Linked DNA regions of Homo sapiens: all the other regions are linked to region 1. The links are contacts of gene promoters, found by promoter capture Hi-C in human tissues and cell types (Jung and others, 2019). All regions are on one chromosome and are shown on one strand. Each heading gives the region's core, a stretch centred on a gene start or on the middle of the fragment in contact. The rest is flanking DNA. Distances are from core to core; before and after follow the strand shown.

The links. The method cuts DNA at HindIII sites, captures the fragments that hold promoters and counts their contacts. A contact is called where the count stands out against the background at its distance.
Region 2: the fragment with the promoter of NDRG3 here is called in contact with a fragment that was not itself captured in region 1 in 3 of the 25 tissues and cell types used here (H1 embryonic stem cells, dorsolateral prefrontal cortex and lymphoblastoid cells).
Region 3: a contact is called between the fragment with the promoter of DSN1 here and a fragment that was not itself captured in region 1, in 3 of the 25 tissues and cell types used here (adrenal gland, heart left ventricle and lymphoblastoid cells).

The regions. Positions count from the first base shown.
Region 1 is chr20:36,480,106-36,483,097 of GRCh38, reverse strand. All of the region lies in intron 7 of DLGAP4 (DLG associated protein 4), which reads right to left. Among named protein-coding and RNA genes, the nearest start is that of MYL9, 60 kb to the left of the region's middle. The HindIII fragment of the contact is 6,952 bases long and covers 1-2,992 here.
Region 2 is chr20:36,744,620-36,747,718 of GRCh38, reverse strand. NDRG3 (NDRG family member 3) reads left to right here and starts at 1,629. Exons shown (of 16, transcript NM_032013.4): 1 at 1,629-1,674. RefSeq lists enhancers at 1,376-1,475, 1,200-2,166 and silencers at 1,586-1,785, 1,816-2,005. The HindIII fragment of the contact is 7,851 bases long and covers 1-3,099 here.
Region 3 is chr20:36,772,270-36,775,276 of GRCh38, reverse strand. It overlaps DSN1 (DSN1 component of MIS12 kinetochore complex), which reads left to right and starts at 1,514. Exons shown (of 11, transcript NM_001145315.2): 1 at 1,514-1,615. LOC124904894 (a long non-coding RNA gene) reads right to left here and starts at 142. Exons shown (of 2, transcript XR_007067574.1): 1 at 59-142. RefSeq lists enhancers at 663-1,209, 1,169-1,248, 1,259-1,398, 1,529-1,588, 1,210-1,755. The HindIII fragment of the contact is 22,977 bases long and covers 1-2,222 here.

The sequences.
Region 1 (2,992 bases), core at 334-2,833:
TGCCCCAGCCCACCCTGGACACCTTATTACCATCATCCCTAGGAATCCAAGCTTTAAAGAGATGGTAGCGCCCAAGCTACTGTTACTAAATCACGATCTTGTTGTTTATCAAAGCTATAACCATTTGGCCGGGCATGGTGGCTCATGCCTGTAATCTCAGCGATTTGGGAGGCTGAGGCAGGGGGATCACTTGAGGTCAGGAGTTTGAGACCAGCCTGGCCAACATGGTGAAACCCTGTCTCTACTAAAAATACAAAAATTAGCCGGGCATGGTATCTCATGCCAGTAATCCCAGCTACTCAGGAGGCTGAGGTGTGGGGATCACTTGAACCCGGGAGACAGAGGTTGTAGTGAACCAAGATCATGCCACTGCACTCCAGCCTGGACAACAGAGTTAGACCCTGTCTCAAAAAAACAAAAACAAAAACAAAAAAACAACCCACGAGAAGCAGGTGCTAGTAAGCAGGAGAAACCGCCCAGTTACAAAGCTGCCTCGGCTCCAGCCCAGTGCAAAAACTTGACATGTGCAGCCCGCTTGGTCTGGTGAAGGACTGAGGGTAGAGAATGCAAAATGTGGCTTTTCAAATACTGGCTGTATCATACGAGCTTTGCTGCTACCTTTCCAAAGCCCTAAGATCCCAGAGCCCAGCCTGGGAAGTATTACTTGGAAAGAGCCTCAAAAAAACTACCCTCACTTCTGGAGGGCTGATGTCAATGGAGGGCTGACTTCAAACCCTGGCGATAGGTCACAAAAGCCCGGCTTTCACCAACTGTCATAGGCTGTGTGTCCAGTGTGCAAAGCCAGACGCTGCCAGGCCCTGTGCACCTCGATTGCTGGCCTCTTTCACCATTCTGAATGACCAAGCGAATCCCAGAATAGAAAGGCAGTGTTAACAAGCTCATTCACTGGGCCTGGAGTGGCAGGTGGCATATCAGGTGACAGGAGTAGGAGCCAAGATCCCTCGGCAGCCTAGAGTTGGGATGAGACGAATAGTGCAGGACTGAATGGGGAAAACCGTGAGTTCACTTCAGGTCAGCAGAGGTAATGCTGCCTGTCTCTGTGCCAGGCACACCCGGGGGACAGAGACACAGAAAAACAGAGGGATTTTTTTTCCCTCAGAGCTTATATTAAGACCCTGAGTTTGGGAACCCAAGTAAGACAATTACACAAGAAAAGCGGCATATGTGGAAAAATGGCTTAGTGACGTCAGCTGACCACAGACACTGAGGATGCACTGTTACAGGAAAGTCACAGGACCAGAGAGGGCGCAGTCCCCACTGAACTCTGGATAATACTGAGGGTATCATAGGTAATTCCAGGCAAGGGATATCGTCAAACTGGAACCTGAAGACAGAAGGTGATCCACACAGGGAGAAGTCTCAACTCCACCCCATTCCAGCAAATGCTTATTTACAGAGGGAAAGCCATGCACAGTGCCAGCCACTAGGGACCCAGAATGAGTAGTCCTTGTCCTCAAGAAACCCATAGAAATGTGGAGATGACAATGAAAAGCCTCCTCCACTGACTGGGCACTGTGGCAGCCATATGGAGTTGCATGAGAAAGCCCAGGACTGATTCAACAAGTGATTAGTGTGTCTGGGACGGACTTGTCACAAACGGGGCGTGTGACACATATGCACCAAAAGTTGTGCTTAGCGTAAAGTGAGGGATGGCTTGGAGAGGCTAGGATGGTCACCCTGGAGAAGAGAGACAATTTAAAAGGGCATGGCTACTGTCCTCAAATACCTAAAAGACTGTCAAATACACATGTAGCCCCAGAGGGTCACACTACAATCAGAGGGGAAAAGGAAGGTGGGGATTGTTAATGGAAGTAAATTTTGACTAATTATAAAGAGGAGCTTTCTAAGAAGCAGAGCTGGCCAAAGATGGAAGAAGGACCTAGAAAATGGCCAGCCAGGCTAGACACAGGCAGGATGGATGCCAGGGAGGAAACTGAAGTCCCCATGGGTGTGACTTTTAAGATTCCTACCGGGCCTGAGACGCTCTTTGCCCTTCTACTTTACATCCAGTTCTGGACGTGATACCACACATCATCTTTGTGTGCATGACATTCATAGTTCAACATTTTTTTTTTGAGACAGTCTCACTGTCATCCAGGCTGGAGTGCAGTGGTATGATCACAGCTCACTGCAGCCTTGATAGCCCGGGCTCAAGCAATCCTCTCACCTCAGCCTCCCAAGTAACTGGAACCACAGGGGTGCACCACCATGCCTGGCTAATTTTTTTAGTTTTTGTAGAGATGAGGTCTCACTATGTTGCCCATGCTGTACTAGAACTCCTGGGCTTAAGCAATTTTTCCACCTAGGCCTCCTGAAGTGCTGGGATTACAGGCGTTGAGTTACCGTGCCCAGCCAACTTTTTGTTTAGAGACAGGGTTTCACTCTGTCACCTAGGCTGGAGTACAGGGTGTGATCATAGTTCACTGTAGCTTCAACTTCCTGGGCTCAAGTGATCCTCCCACGTCAGCCTCCCGAGTAGCTAGGACTACAGACATGTACCACTGCTCCTGACTAATTTTTTTAATTTTAATTTTTTGTAGAGACAGGGTCTCACTATGTTGCCCAGACTGATCTCAAACTCCTGGGCTCAAGCCATCATCTCACCCTGGTCTTCCAAGTGCTGGGATTACAGGCGTGAGCCACTGGTCTTTTTTACCCCCCTACCTCCGGAGAATTGTTATCAACAAACAGCGAAATACAAAATGAGAATGTTCACACAGCCTAGCCACACGGGAAATCTTGTGAGGACTAACACCAGGGCTTCAGACAGCAAAGTCTGGAAGTAAAACACCTTCGTCTGGGAAGTCTAGCTGCATAAGAGCTCCCATCTGAGATGATAAATCCATCCTCAGAATAGGAGATCAGCTGATACTTGCTACCCTGCCCCCTTCAAAATACCTGCTATGACAGAAACTGCCAGTAGGTTAGGAATCCCTGGAATCAGCCTTCATTCAGTGTATGACTTAAGCTC
Region 2 (3,099 bases), core at 380-2,879, 260 kb before region 1:
AATACGATAGAACAAAGAAAAATAATACTTACTGAGCTCTAAGCATTTTACATGCATATTATCATTCAGTCTTTGCCACAACCTTGTAACTTCTATTTCTGGGTGTGTGACATAGATGAGGAATTCGGGCATGGAGAGGTGTGGAGAGACTTAATTGTCTAACCAAGGACATAGGGATAAATAGTGGATGGTGAACTAGAACTAATTTGAATTCAGTAAATGTTAACGAACATAAACCATAAAATAAATGGCTGTGCTCAATTAATGTTAGTTTTCCTTCCAACTAAATTCAGTTCAAGAATTGTGCTTGATGAATAACAATATTATTGCTGCCCTCTGAGATGTTTGGTAATATTCATTTGTTCAGTTTGCCTTAATTAAAAGAATATGCTTTTAGTGGCCGGGCGTGGTGGCTCACACCTGTAATCCCAGCACTTTGGGACGCAGAAGCAGGCGGATTGCTTGAGGTCAGGAGTTTGAGACCAGCTTGGCCAACATGGTGAAACCCCATCTCTACTAAAAAAAAAAAAATACAAAAATTACCCAGGCATGGTGGCGCCCGCCTCTAGTCCCAGCTACTTGGGAGGCTGAGGGACTTGGGAACCTGAGCCGAGATGGCGACACTGGCTCGGGTTAAAAGGGCGTGGTGGCTCACACACCTGTAATCCCAGCACTTTGGGAGGCCGAGGCGGGCAGATGACGAGGTCAAGAGATCGAGACCATCCTGGCCAACACGGTGAAAACCCGTCTCTACTAATAATAGAAAAATTAGCCAGGCCCGGTGGCACACGCCTACAGTGCCAGCTACTCGGGAGGCTGAGGCAGGAGAATCGCTTGAACCCAGGAGGCAGAGGTTGCAGTGAGCCGAGATCGCGCTAGTGCACTCCAGCCTGGCGACAGAGTGAGACTCCGTCTCAAAAAACAAAACAAAACAAAACAAAAAAACTTTTAGTCAGTGGTACTTAATGGTAAAGAAATAATAGATAATAAATAGAGGAAGAGTGTGTCCTGTACATTTTGGTGTTAAATTGTTGGGTCATTAAGTTTAATATCTGCAATCATTCTGGGAAAAAAAATTCCATCTCTAATGTTGCATTCAAGAAAGTAGATGATTTGGCTGACGGTTGTAATAGGGGTGATACAATGGAGGACTGGTAATTCGGAGCCCTGAGTCTTGGACTCTAGTTCTTAAATTACTATGTTCATTCACCAAAAATTTACTAAGCTCTTTCCACGTGCCGAGCACTGTGCTAGGCGCCCTGTGACCTTGGGTATGGCTCTAGGTCACCTTAAAAGGAGGATGCCATACCCTGCAAGAGCTCTTAGGGGCTTCATAAGGATGCGACTCAGGGAACTGAGGGAAGCGCTCCAGACGCAGAGCTCAATGGCCCTGCCGCCCAGCGCCTCCAAAATCTGAGATTCTTCTCTGAGGAAACTCCGCAGCAAGAAAAACTACATCAAAGATGGCGCCGCCGGCCTCTCCTGGCTCAGCCACCATCTTCTCGGTAGTTCCCGAGGTGGACGGGCACAGCACTCATGCGCCGCCCTGGCGTCCTCGGCGCGCCTGCGCGGACCGCAGCACCTCCCCCGCCCCTCTCGCCGCCGCCGCCGCCGCCGCCGCCGCCGCCGCCGCCGCCGCTGCTGCTGCACTGACGGCGGGTGCCCGCGCCTCAGGTGAGTGAGCGCCTCCGCCCGGCCCGCGGGGGGCGCGCGGCGCCGCATTCGGGGGCGTCGCTCCTTTGCCCTGCTCCTTCCCCGCATCATCTCCGCGGCACGGCGAGGCCCTGGTGGCCCGTGCTGCTTGCCTCCCCCGTGCCCCCGGGGCCCTCTGCCCCGCCCCGCCCGCCCGCCGGACCCAGGTCAGCCCGGCTTTCCTCGGCCGCTCCCCGCGCCCAGCCCGCCGGCGACAGCGTGTGGGTAGCAAGAGAGCCTCCCTCCGGGCTCAACACCCTGGGTCACAGGGACGCCCCCCGCAGGCGCGAACCCTTCTCTCGCTCTGGCTCTGCAGGCGGCAGAGCTTGGTGGGCCTTGGGGTTGCTCATCCATCTACCTCGCCCGCTCCAAGAGCCCAGATGCTTGGAAGAGGGGCCGTGAGCAGCCCTTGCACCCGTCCGGCCCCAGAGCAGCAGAGGGCATCCTCTAACGGGACCCTACGACTACCCTACCGGGGAGAGGCTTCTTAGCCCCACTTAACAGCCGAGGAAACTGAGGCACGGAAAGGTGAAGTGCCATGCCCAAGGTCACGCAGCTGACAAGTGGCAGGGTCAGCTCTCAACTCAGGGTCTCGGGCTCTCAGGCCAGTGCGGTTGGAATTTGATCTCGTACCTTTGAAAAAATTTTGAAATCACTTGTCATCTCTGAAGTTGCTCTCGAACGTCGTAAAAGTAGGCTGCACAAAAAAGATTTTCTTGTTGTCGGAGTACAATTGAGGTGTTACTGTAATAATAATAGTGTTATTAATATAAGAGCTAACGTTCTTCCACCGCTCGCTGTGTGCCAGGGATCTTGCTAAGCATTTTATTAAGATAACCTCGCATAACCACCTCTGCACTTCCCAATCCAAATGCTTCCCCCTTCCTTGTCATGAAGCCCTTTTTTTCTTCCTGCAGAGCTGGCCTCCCTATCACAGGTAGACTAGGAGCCCCGTGGATTAGGAAGCAGGGAAGCTTTCCTTTGGTGGCTTACTGACAGAACAAGAGTGATCCTTGCCTGCTGGCATCCAGATCACCCCCGCCGCGCCCCCCCCCCCCCTTACCCTGGCCCTCAGGGGATATTATTAGCCTTCCTTTCCTGCCAAGAGAGCAGGACTGGGCTGACTGGGCTAGCTGGGCGGGCTGGACTTGGAGGTGACAGAGCAGATTTGGCTAGCACTCACCTCATTCCGGGGCTTTCTGTCCGAGGCTTTCTGCCTTTGCCCCAAGGTTGGGCTTGAACATTTCAGTATTTAAGATAAAGCAAGAAGAGAAAGAGAACATTGATAGAGTGGTGCTGAATTTAAGAAGCCTCCCATGATTTAAAGTTCCAAATGAACAGCTATAAAAATATGTGAATGTTTCTCCCCCAAAATAACTAGCTCAAACTGTCGTTTTTCTCCCTTAG
Region 3 (3,007 bases), core at 265-2,764, 290 kb before region 1:
GCCAGCAGGCTGGAACCACAGGGTGGAAATTTCAGGAAGGCAGATTTTTGTCTCCCACCAGAAAACTTTTCCAAGGACCACAACTGCTATGGAAGGATGACCACGGTCAGCTCCAGCTGCCTCTCTCCAACCCCTCTTTTGGACTGTGGGCTGCTTATAATTCAATATTTGGAAGTTTTTCTGTGAAAGAAAGGACTGTGCACATCCAAGGGGACATTTTGGTGGCGTCGTGCTGGGTGCTGAGGAAGCAGCCCGCTCTCTGGAGCCTCCTAGACCAGCATGGGATAGTGGAGCAGGAACAGATTGGGCTCCTGGGAGCACAGAAAGGACAGTTGGTTTTCAGCCTAAGGCCAGAGAGAATGCTTGGAGAGAAATCAATCATTCCTTAGCTGAGGCTTAAAATTCGAGGATGTGGCCGGGCGCAGTGGCTCATGCCTGTAATCCCAGCTCTTTGGGAGGCCGAAGTGGGTGGATCACTTGAGGTCAGGAGTTCGCGACCAGCCTGGCCAACATTTTTAGTGGCCGTCTCTACTAAAAATACAAAAATTAGCCAGGCGTGGTGGTGGGCGCCTGTAATCCCAGCTACTCGGGAGGCTGAGGCAGGAGAATCGCTTGAACCCGAACCCGGGAGGCGGAGGTTGCCGGGAGCCGAGATCGCGCCACTGCACTCTAGCCTGGGCGACAGAGCGAGACTCCGTCTCAAAATACAAAAAAATTGGAGGATGTAGCTAGGAAAAGCAGGGAAAGCCTTCCCAGGCAGAGGGAACAGCGCCTGGGAATATAGCGCCTCAAAGGGCATCTGATGCCCTGTCCCCGTCCTACCCCTAAGGACCAGCCCGACCTGCCGCACCCCCCGACCCCGACTAAGGACACTGCGACCACTTGGGGGCGCTGCGACCTCCTCCCGGGTGAAATGAAACCCGAGGGCAGGCCCCCACCCACCAAGCAAGTAAAGCAAGCCGTTTGAGGGAGTGGCCTGGAAATGAGAGAGAAAAAGTCCTAGAGCAGGAGTGGGATAGACTGTGAGGCAAACTGAGCTCAGAGCTCCAGTCCACCCTGGGGAGAGTCACGGTCCACATTTTGGGAGTTAAGGAGATAAAGGGAGTGGGAACCAGAGCCTAGCGACGGGGACAGGGCATCAGATGCCCTTTGAGGCGCTGTATTCCTCCGGCAAGAATCTCTCCGGGCCTCTGTTTCCCCCATCTTAGATGGGCTCTGGGGCCGTCGGGCGCAAAAGGACACGATAGTGTGGCGGGTCCCGGAAAGGGACTCCCGGGCGGGGTGTTGCGGGGAGGTGGTGACGTGGCCAGACAGGACCTAAAGGACTTGGACTAGAGGAGCGGAGCTGGCAGGAGCGTTGGACGGCGGTGTACGCATGCGCGTCGGGCGGCGGTGTACGCATGTGCATCGCCGGAGGCAGGCGTTCTGCGCGCGCGTGCCCGAGAAACTGACGGCCGCGCATGCGCCCTTGGTTGGCGGGAGTTTCGGAGGCGGTGACCGTGACGTAGAAGGTGGAGACCGCTTCACCCTGATCAGGGAGTATCGGCTGCGGGTGCGCAAGGCGTCCAGGAGTGACCTGGGGCTGTGGAGAGCGACCCGTGGCCTTGTGTTTCAGGTACGGAGGTTCCGGACTGGACGGGCGTCAGGAAGTCACAGACTTGTCCTCTGATGTGGCCCCGCCCGCCGCCGCACTAATCTCTTCGGCGTCGTACCCGTCGGCCCAGCTCGACCCGCCGCAGCCCCGGCCCCGACCGTGGACACTGGGGGTCCCCGAGGGCGCTGCGACCTCCTCCCGGGTGAAATGAAACCCGAGGGCAGTCCCCCTTACCGACCCCATTAGAGACGTATCTGCCGTGCCAGGGGTCTAGGCTCCAGAAACAGGGGTGAGGACTGGGTAGAGGGCTGGGGTTCGAATTGCCCCTGTGCCCCCAGGCTGGCTGTGTCACAAGCTTGGGCCAGGCTTTTTGCCCCTCTGAACCTCAGTTCCCCTGTCTGCAAAGTGGAGTTAATGGTGCTTACGGAGTTGTGGAAGGGATTAAGTGGAATAACGATGCAAGTAAAGCGCTTACATAGCACAGGTCCTAGCACAGAATAAGCGTTTAACAGTTGACAGTTGTTGCTTTTCTAAGCCTGGATCTGTGTGATACAGTCGTTATTATCCAAGCCTGGATTTGTGTGATATTGTCATAAGGACCGTGGGGGATTCAGATCCTTGACCGAGCCCTCCTTGTTATCTTTTCCTTTTTGTCCCTCTGCATATATTCATATCTTTTTACTTAGCACCCCCCACAGACAGATTTCTGCTGGGAGGGAGGGGACGATGAAGAGATGCCTAGGTGACATCCCTGCCTTCCAGGCAGTTGTTCCTGACAGTCACTAGGAATACAAATACAGCCTGGCTGGGGAGACAGACATGTAAACAGATTTTATAGCCAATGCTACGAAGGCCAAGGGGCATAACCACCAACTCTGCCAAAGATAAGTGATGTGAAAGCTTCATATTTGAGCCAGGTTGGGAAGGATGAATAAGTTTAACAGGTAGAAGGACAGATATGTGCAAAGATTCAGAAGTAGTACAGGGAATAGGACTGGGAGGAGAGAGCAGGAATGGGTAAATTGGGACTAGTTTACCTGAGGTGTTGACTACACTTTGGAAAAGTCCCGGCAACTGTCTGAAGAATAGACTGGGCCGGGTGTGGTGGCTCAGGCCTGTAATCCCAGCACTTTGGGAGGCTGAGGCCGGGCGGATCACCTGAGGTCAAGAGTTCGAGACCAGCCTGGCCAATATGGGGAAACCCCATCGCTACTAAAAATACAAAAATTAGCCAGGTGTGGTGGCAGGCACCTGTAATCCCAGCTACTCAGGAAGCTGAGGCAGGAGAATTGCTTGAACCTGGGAGGTGAAAGTTGCAGTGAGCCGAGACTGCGCCACTGCACTCCAGCCTTGGCGACAGAGTGAGATTCCACCTCAAAAAAAAACAAAAACAAAGAATAGACTGGAGACGGG